Linked DNA regions of Homo sapiens: regions 2 and 3 are each linked to region 1. Evidence: promoter capture Hi-C in 16 types of primary human blood cells and fetal thymus (Javierre and others, 2016). All regions are on one chromosome and are shown on one strand. Each heading gives the region's core, a stretch centred on a gene start or on the middle of the fragment in contact. The rest is flanking DNA. Distances are from core to core; before and after follow the strand shown.

Evidence for each region. Contacts are between HindIII fragments. The CHiCAGO score rates a contact against its expected background, and 5 or more counts as called.
Region 2: a fragment that was not itself captured here is called in contact with the fragment with the promoter of GDPD2 in region 1 in 4 of 17 cell types (naive CD8 T cells, naive CD4 T cells, total CD8 T cells and 1 more); the score reaches 7.2 in naive CD8 T cells.
Region 3: the fragment with the promoter of P2RY4 here is called in contact with the fragment with the promoter of GDPD2 in region 1 in 1 of 17 cell types (naive CD8 T cells); the score reaches 5.2 in naive CD8 T cells.

Annotation. Positions count from the first base shown.
Region 1 is chrX:70,421,613-70,424,752 of GRCh38, forward strand. It overlaps GDPD2 (glycerophosphodiester phosphodiesterase domain containing 2), which reads left to right and starts at 1,702. Exons shown (of 16, transcript NM_017711.4): 1 at 1,702-1,770. RefSeq lists enhancers at 668-1,656, 1,657-2,645. The HindIII fragment of the contact is 11,609 bases long and covers 1-3,140 here.
Region 2 is chrX:70,226,267-70,229,406 of GRCh38, forward strand. No RefSeq gene overlaps it. Among named protein-coding and RNA genes, the nearest start is that of AWAT1, 6.8 kb to the right of the region's middle. The HindIII fragment of the contact is 4,506 bases long and covers 1-3,140 here.
Region 3 is chrX:70,258,532-70,261,671 of GRCh38, forward strand. It overlaps P2RY4 (pyrimidinergic receptor P2Y4), which reads right to left and starts at 1,673. Exons shown (of 1, transcript NM_002565.4): 1 at 1-1,673. The coding sequence starts at 1,093. The HindIII fragment of the contact is 18,804 bases long and covers 1-3,140 here.

The DNA.
Region 1 (3,140 bases), core at 452-2,951:
AAAAGCTCCCAAACCATCCCCAAACACTCAAAAGCCAAGACTCCTCTAGAATCCACCAGAGCCCAAGCAAAAGAAATTGAGCAACAATCTGCCTAGAATGAAGCCTGCCATGGACTAGGTGACCTGCTGGTCCTCCCTGGCCTCCTGCCAGCAAGCAGCCCTGCTTCTCTTTGCATTTTAATGCCGAGGGAGCAAGGGAGCCTCTGCCATTGCCAACTAGAGCCTCTGGATACAATGGGAAGCCTGAGTGGGAGGGGGGCCAGCTCTTGGCATAAGAGAGCCAGTCTTCCTTCTCACTGTTTGAAATCCAGTGTGTGTTGGGGGAGGGGTAAGCAGGCTTATCCCCAGAGAAAACATCCTTTCCCACCAACACTGCACTAATAGCCCCCAGACCTCGAGTCACCACATCAGGCGTAATGTAGAGGGAGAGGTCAACCAAGCCAGCCCCTGGCCCCCATCCCACCCAGACCCCTGTGCTTTAGCACTAAGCAAACTATAGTGTGCTAGCCAGCCCTTCCCTGCTGATGCTGATGCTATAGTAACAGCATCTTTTCTATGTGTTCATCTTCCAAAAGCCTGTGACCCCAATATACTCTACACTCCTCAAAAGATTCTTGGAAAGAGACTCATATGCCTTAGGGACAAGGCAGCAGAAATGACACAAGTCCTGAATGAGCATCTCCTGTCTGGGGTGATGAGGGAAGGTGGGAGAACTGCTAGTGTCACCCAGGATCCACAAGGCCCATGGGGACCTCTGGTCCAGAAACGGCAACTTGCTATCCAGAGTTCAGGAAGTAGCTTGCAGCTTCTGTTGCCCAGGCTGGAGCACAGTAGCACAATCTCAACTCACTGCAGCCTCGACGTCCTGGGCTCAAGCAATCCTCCCACATCAGCCTCCCAAGTAGCTGGGACAAATGACCAAGGCTTGTCTTTGCTTTAAACCTGGCCTTGTGAGATGTCCCATGCAACTACCTAGTCTTTGGTAGGTGCACACCATCATGCCTGGCTAATTTTTGTATTTTTTGTAGAGACAGGGTTTCACCATGTTGGCCAGGCTGGTCTTGAACTCCTGACCTCAGGTGATCCACCCGCCTCGGCCTCCCAAAGTGTTGGGGTTACAGGTGTAAGACACCGCGCCAGGCTGCAGCTTCTTATACATGCACCTTGCTGAATTAGAAGTAGGAGCTCAATAGGGGAGGGAGCCTAATGAATCAAGGCTGTATTTCCAGGGAGCTTGAGACTTGATGTTAGGCTTACACACACGCACACACACACACACACACACGCCTTTCCAGTGGGCTGGCTGGGCCTCTTCTCCTCACTGCCAAGTTGCAAAGTTGTGTGGTCACCTCCCCCCCCCACACACACCAGCTTCCCGCCAGCCTGTGCCCTCAGCCCTCGCCTCCCTGAGCCAGGACAAAGCCCCGGCAGTGACTGGGAGGGGAACAGGAGGAGGGACAGAGGGATGGGAAAGCCTGCACAAAGGAATTCCTCACCCCAAGCCCCCTGACCGCCAGCGAGTAAAGAAGCAGATTTGCTCTCCCTCCCGCTTCCTCCCTCCCATCTTCCCACCCGGGCTGTGCCCAGGCCACAGAGCAGCTGCAGGCCTTGGGAGAGGACCCACACAGCCTCCTGTAGGTGGCAACAGTGCCACCTGTTTGACTCATAGGGCTGAACCGAGGACTGAAAAAGGGAGGAGGCAGACCACTCGGAGAGGAGCTGGGAAGCAGTGCAGAGAGGAGAGCGGAGCGGAGCTGCCGCTGAGCAAAGGTGTGAGGGTTCGGGAAGGCTGGGGGGCTACAGGTGGGAGCTGTGGAGCAGAGACCAGCTCCATCCCACTGGGATTGGGCCGGGGGATTGAATGGCACCCCTGTCAGCAACCCTACTTGGGGTTTTCAGGCTGCTCAGACCCTGATCCCATCCTACAGGCAGCTCCTGAAGGGAGGGGACTCTGGAAGGCAGTGTCTGGGGTGCAGGGGTAGGACCCCAGGGGAGGCAAGAGCTTAGAGCAGGCTATCAAACCAGCTCCAAGATGGGCAGAGGCAAGGGCTTCCCTTTGGGTTGGCTTTTTACCGGGAAGGGTCTCGTAGAGGGGAGGGGTTTCCTTCCCCCAGCTCCAGCTCCTCACCCCTACCCTAACCCTCCTTTCCCAAGGCAGCATAAAGAGGGCAGTTCAGAAGCAGCCACACCTTCCTGCTTACCGGACCCACCCACTGTGCACCCCTCTAAGACTCCATAGCCTCGGGAGAGCTCTGAGGACAAGAGGTCCTGTCCCTCAGCCCGCACGCACACATGCTCACACACTTTGGGTGTATCCAGGGGCTCCTTTACATACTCAAAGTCACCTAAAATCATATTGTACCGACAGCCAGTTGTGCTGTCGCGTGCAAATGCTGACACAAATCACATACCGTCTCGCGTAGAATCAGTCACGTACCCAGCCAAGTCTGGGGATCAGCTCAGTCAGCCAAACCCAGAAGCATAAGGTACAGGGGTCCCCTGCCCCAAGACAACCACACCCCGCATACACACCTTTGCCCTGCGTTTGTTGTACTTTCACCAAAGCTAACTTAGAGGGTGGGGCTCCTAAAGGCGAGTCTGGGCTTCTGGTTGGGGTTGGGGGATGACTGGGCAGGAAAGGGCAGGACTTGAGGGGAGGCTCTGTATTTTGAAAATCCAAAGATTCCTTTAGAAGACTGGGAGTGACCCAGGCAACATGTTCACCTCAAGTCTTTCTCTTTTTGGCAGTGCCCTTTGTCCCCTGAGAGGTGGACACAGAGAATCTTTCAGGGATTTGTGATCTGAATAATCTCTATAACCATAGCAACTGGCCAACTAGCTGGGCCTTCCTTAGCCCCAGGTCAGAACTGTAACCTTTGCTTCAGGTTACTCCTGCTTCCTGGGCTGGAAAGCAATTCAACATGGGGTTGCCTCCAGCTTGGCCAAACCTGCTTTAACTTGCTGAACTGAGTTTGTCCCACCCTGGGCAGTTTCTCTTGAGTTCTTACCCCCAGGGCAAGCACTCCATCCCCAGAGGTGTGTGCTGTTAAATGGGGAGGAGCTGGAGAGAGTGGATATGAATCCTGCCCGAAAAGAGGCTGGACCTCTTGGGTGTCCCACTGACTCTCCAGGTAACAAGA
Region 2 (3,140 bases), core at 395-2,894, 200 kb before region 1:
AATCTAGTATGCTCTAGTACAATTGAATACACACAGACCATATGACCCAGCAGTTCCACTCTTAGTTATAGATCCTAGAGAAACTTTTGCACATGAGCACCAGAAGACATAAAATAGAATGTTCTAGAAGCAATGTACATAATAGCAAAAACCAATATAAATGTCCATCAATAAGAACATGGATGAATGAACTGTGGTACATCCATATTCATACAATGGAATACAAAAAGCAGAGCTGCGTATGTCAACAAAGATGAGTATCAAAATCATAGTGTTGAGTGAAAACAATCAAGTAACAGAAGAATACTGTGTGTGTGTGTGTGTGTGTGTGTGTGTGTGTGTGTGTAATGTTTCTATGTCAAAAGCAGACAAACCTAAATGTTTTATTGTTTAAGGAGACATACATATGTGATGGAACTGTAAATAAAATCAAGGGAATAATAGACAAACACATCAGTTACTCATGGTAGGGGAGGGCACGGGGGAATGAGAACAGGGACAGGCACACAGGGGCCTTAGAAACTACTGGTAGCATCTATTTCTTAAGTCAGATGCATATATGTATGTATGTGTGTCTTGTTTTTCTGAACCATTTCAAATTTAAAAACAACCATAACCGTGCTGTCCACATAAAACATGTATACATGTATACATGTACATATGCATATATGTACAGAGAGATAAATATGCACAATATTAATTGTTGAATTTGAGAGGTAGATGATATACAGTTGTTTATTATACTATTCTTTCAACCTTCCTGTATGTTTGAAGTTTTTTCTAAAAATAGTTGGAGAAACTAAATTTGAAGGCCTTTAGAAGGAACACGCCCTCTCTGGGTCAACATACTCCCCACCATTCCTTGTTACAACTCTCAGCCTGGTTCCCTCATCTCTATATCTCTGATCCCTAGAGACATTTGAGTTTGCAACCTCTGGCTCAGCTTGTAGGTCTTGACTCCTTCTAGGTCTCCCTGCCTCCTCTATGTAACAGGTCACAGCTTTGGGGCATAAAAGATGTTTTTCTCATTCCCAGAGGTTGAATAAACCATACACTAAGTTTAGTTTAGTTTTGAGAACATATTAAGGACAATAAAAGTTTATGTAATTCCCCACTACCCTGCAGTGAAGGGTATCCCTCTCTGCCCGCAGCCCCAGCAGCTACAGTAACTTTGGCAAGCATGCCATCTCTTAGAAGATAAAGACGAAGCCTTGGAAACATCAAGCCACACCAGCTACTTCTCCCAGAAGATAAGATGAAAAATTTTATGATTCTTTTTTTTTTTTTCAGATGGCGTTTCGCTCTTGTTGCCCAGGCTGGAGTGCAATGGCGTGATCTCAGCTCACTGCAACCTCCGCCTCCGGGTTCAAGTGATTCTCCTGCCTCAGCCTCCCGAGTAGCTGGAATTACAGGCGCCCACCACCATGTCCAGCTAATTTTTTGTATTTTTAGTAGAGATGGGGTTTCACCATGTTGGCCAGGCTGGTCTTGAACTCCTGACCTCAAGTAATCCACCTGCCTCGGCCTCCCAAAGTGCTAAGATTACAGGTGCGAGCCACCACGCCCAGCCCAGTTTTATGATCTTGATGTCCCTTGTAGTCTCTCTGACACCAAAGGTGAAAAGAGTGGGAAACTAAGATCTTCCAGAAACATCGAGGGGCCAATGGGGTTAACTACTTATGAAGGATATAATGTATGAGATGAATGGCTGTTACCCAGTGGGCACAGGCAGCCATTCCTGGACTTGAGAATGAATGAGAAAGAGTCCCTGGTGGGTGCCTAGGCCCCGGAGAGTTTGCAGCCAATAAACCATTGCCCTTCAGACTGATGGGTTCTCAGTCCCTCACAGTTCAGTCATGTTGGAGAAACGGAAGCAGCTTGCCAGATAGCATTTGCCTAGCCACATTCTGTGATATGAGAGATTCTTTGCACACCATGGTTTTCACTCCTGCAGCTATCACACTGCATTAAATCCTCGATCTTTGCTGCCCCTACCTTGGCTAGTTATACACACACACACACACACACACACACACACACACACACACACCCTACAGCATGAATTCATCCAATTGTTTTGCACAAAAACATGTTTAAAATGAAAAGGCAGAAAGCCAGAGGCAGGTAGGGTAACTTGGGTATAAGCTGAGGTTAGCCAGTGACACTGCATGACAGCTTGGCCCAGCATGTCAAAGCAGGTGTGACAATGGCAAGACTCCTGTCTGATTGTTCTAATCATCCAGACAGAGAGACCAAGATCACTTGCCCTTTTGATATCCACTAACCTTTGACCTAGGACTAGGCCTGGGTGGTTTCCACTGGCTTTGCCGCTTTTTGGAGTGGCCTTCCCTCTTGGTTTATTTTTGCCTTGACCTCCCTACTTGCTGACCTTCCAGATCTTAGAACATCAAGTTGTGTCTTGATACCTAGATCCTCATATGACCAAACATTGGCTTAGGAGAATGTTGACACCTCTTCATCCTCCGTGACCTATTTTAGCTATTTGCTGCCCACATCCTATTATGACAGAACTCACTTGAGAGTTTGAATCTGCTCTGATGAATGCTTACAGGCCAGGGACTGAAGATAAGGGAAAGAAGAATTCTATTACCAAAGCTGTAGCATCAAGAAGATACCTTCAGCTCTCAGAGAAGAAAGCGAAGACCAAGGCCAGATAACTAGCGGCTAACTTGTGATCCAGGGGCAAGACAGTACTTTACATGTGTAGTGCTCGAGAGGGAAATTCCAACTGGAAAAACCTGGATCAATAAAGGTAGGTAGGTAGGTAGGTAGATAGATAGATAGATACACAGATACATAGATACATAGATACATGGATACATAGATAGAAAAGAAGGACATTCATAAAACAATGAAAGTATGTCATTCGCCAAGGATTACGATTACTACAATTTCTTGATGTCACATTAAGAAAACAAAAACAAAAGGAAAGGATCATGTCCTTACTAACAACCAGTTCTCCACATTCCCAGGTTTTCTTTTAGCTATTACTTTTTTAAAAATATGTCATTCAGGAAGGGTGGCCAGGACCACCCAGATACCAAGAAAATCCCTGGATGCCCCAGACATTCTGGCCTAGGAAATTGTAAAACACTAATCATTAGTTCAGGTGAGCTGAC
Region 3 (3,140 bases), core at 423-2,922, 160 kb before region 1:
ATCTATCTGCCCTAGGAGTAGAGCAGCTACTGTCCTGGGGGGTGGCCGCCCACCTGCAGCTGCTATCCTCAGGCAGGGACACTAGTGCCAGGGAAGAGGCAGCCGTGCGGGGCTGGGGCTTGCCACCACCACAGAGCTGACGGAGCTGACGTCGATATTTGTCCCCAGTGAGCAAGTAGAGCACAGGATCCAGGCAGCTGTTGGCACTGGCCAGGGGCCGAGTCACTTTATAGACCACGTTGACAATGTTCAGTACTCGGCAGTCAGCTTCCAACAGCCTGGCCAGGTAGTAAATGGTGCGGGTGATGTGGAAAGGCACGAAGCAGACAGCAAAGACAGTCAGCACCACAGCTATGGTGCGGAGAGAGCGGAGGCGAGAAGACGACTGTGCAGAGCCTGGCAAGGGCTGATACAGGCGACGAGCCATGAGTCCATAGCAAACAAGAGTGACCAGGCAGGGCACGCCAAAGAGCAGCCCCATGACCGCCGAGCTGAAGTGCACATAGTGGTCAAACTCTTCAGGCCGAGTGGTGTCATGGCACAGGACGGTGGTCCCTTTGTTGCTGGTTGTGACAAAGAACAGGTTGGGCACGAGGCAGCCGGCTACGACCAACCAAACTGCCAGGCAGAGAAGGCCTGCGAGGCGAGGGCGGCCCCAGCGTAGTGCCCGAAGTGGGTGGCAGATGCCCAGGTAGCGGTGCACGCTGATGCAGGTGAGGAAAAGGACACTGCAGTAGAGGTTCCAATAGAAAAGAAAGCGGACGAACTTGCAGATCTCAGTGCCAAAGGGCCAGTGGTTGTGGGCTGCATAATAGTAGATGAGGGTGGGCAGCGACAGCACATACAAGGTGTCTGACAATGCCAGGTGGAACATGTAGGTGGCCGTTGCATCCCAGGGTCGGAGGCGGAAGATGAAGAGCCATAGGGTTGGGGCGTTAAGGCCCAAGCCCAGCACAAAGACAACTGCATAGCTCACAGGCAGCAGGATGAACTTGAAATCCTCATCAAACCAACAGTCCAGCTCCACCTCACTGCTGCCAGGACCTGGGCTGAGGCCTAGGGATCTCAACAGGGAGGACTCTGTACTGGCCATGGCCCCCCTGGAGATGGGAAGGGGAGAAGTGAGGGTGGCAGGATTTCCCTGCCCACCCCCATCCCTGAGCTGGAGCAAAAAAAGTAGAGCAGGGAGAGCAGTGGTTGAAGCACTAGGGAGAGCTGACAGAAGCGCATCTGGGTGCACTCAGGCTAGCCTGGCCCCTACCCAAGCTCCCTTGGTCCAGCTTGGGAAGTGGTGGGCAGCAGGCAGTGCTGGGGCTCAGGCAGGCAGCCCGTGTATTTGGGTTGTACTCACTCTGCAGCTCACTCTGTCCCTAAGAGCCTGGCTGGCTGAAGAGGGTGGAGGCCTCCCAGCACTATCCAAAGTGGGAAGATACCCAGACCCAAAGTGTCTTCTGACTCGTCATCACAGCTATATCCCTGGAAGAGGAGTGTCTCTCCCCACAGTGCCTTCGCCTCTCCTAGTGCCCTGGTCACAGTGTCTCCAGATGACATTTACCTATGACACCTTCCCCACTGCCTGCCTACAGCCCAGGAGCCCCATTGCCACCCTTGCCCAAGAACGTTGGCACATCTCCTACCTGGTCCCCTTGAAGCTGAGCTCAGCTGACTCTGTCACCCTTCCCCTTGGCAGCCAGAGGGCATATCCAAGGAGGTGGAGTTGGAGGTGGGGCCTGTCCCTCCTCCCACCTGGGAGATTAAAAGAGTTAGAAAGGCCCTTTACGATGACCTAGTCCAACCCACTCATTGTACAGATTGGGAAACTGGGGCCCAGCGAGATTACTATTTAACAGCTTTGAAATGACTGCAGGAGGGAGAACACGAGGAAACATCCAAGTTTACTGATGAAGAGCCAGGTCCCTGGAGATAGATTACAGGGGGATCATACAAGCCTGTGTAAGTGAGCAGAAACATGGGAAACGAATTTTCACATGGGCAAGTGCAAGACAACACATTGAAAGATTTTAGAAAATCTAAACTACTGATATTTAATATAAATCTCATATGCATATAATTACAAAGAATGCTTATATAGCACTTACTATGTGACAGGCATTTTTCTAAGTGCTTTATACTTATTAATGACCCCATAGGCTCTCTATGAGCTAGATACTATTATTGTCTCTGCTTTGCTGATGAAAAAATGAAGGCACAGAAAGTTTAGGTGTCTTGCTAGTTAGTGGTAGAGTCAAGATTTGAACCAAGACAGGCCTGCCTTTGGATCAGGCTCTAGCATCCATAACTTAATTGCTATGCTTAAGTTGCCTCTCTAAGCCACTGGCTATGATCCAGGAAAGAATCAACAAATATTTATGGCAGACAGAGGCAGGCAGATCGCTGGAGCTCAGGAGTTCAAGACAAGCCTGGACAACGTGGCAAAACCCTGTCTCTACAAAAAATTAGTCGGGCGTGGTGGCATGCACCTGATGTCCCAGCTACATGGGGGGCTGAGGCAGGAGGAGTGCTTGAACCTGGGATGTTGAGGCTGCAGTGAGCTGTGATCGCGCCACTGCACTCCAATCTGGGTGACAAAGTGAGACCCTGTCTCAAATATAAATAATTTTTTTAAAACCACGAATATTTACTGAGAGCCTACTTTTGCCTGGTCCAGTTCTAGTTACTGGTAGTTCCTTAGGAGTGGACAAAATAGATAAAAACTCCCACCCTAATGGTGCTTACATACTACTGGGGGATAATAAAATTAATAAGTAAAATATGTAGATTGTGATCATCATTATGGAGAAAAATTAAAGAGGGAAGGAAAAGGGTAATAAAGAGGGAAGGAAAAGGGTAATAGAGAGGGTTGTTGTTTTAAATATTAGGAATGAAACCAGGCACAGTGGCTCACACCTGTAATCCCAGTGCTTTGGGAGTCGGAGATAGGAGGATCACTTGAGCCCAGCAGTTTGAGGTTGCAGTGAACTATGGTCAGACCTCTGCACTCCAGCCTGAATGACAAAGCAAGACCCTGTCTATAAGTAAATAAATAAATATTAAGGGTGACTTTTGAATAAAGGCCAGGTGTTGTGAGAAGGGGAAAAGTAAAAAATGAGGTCAGAGAGTTTGGCAGGGACCAGATCATG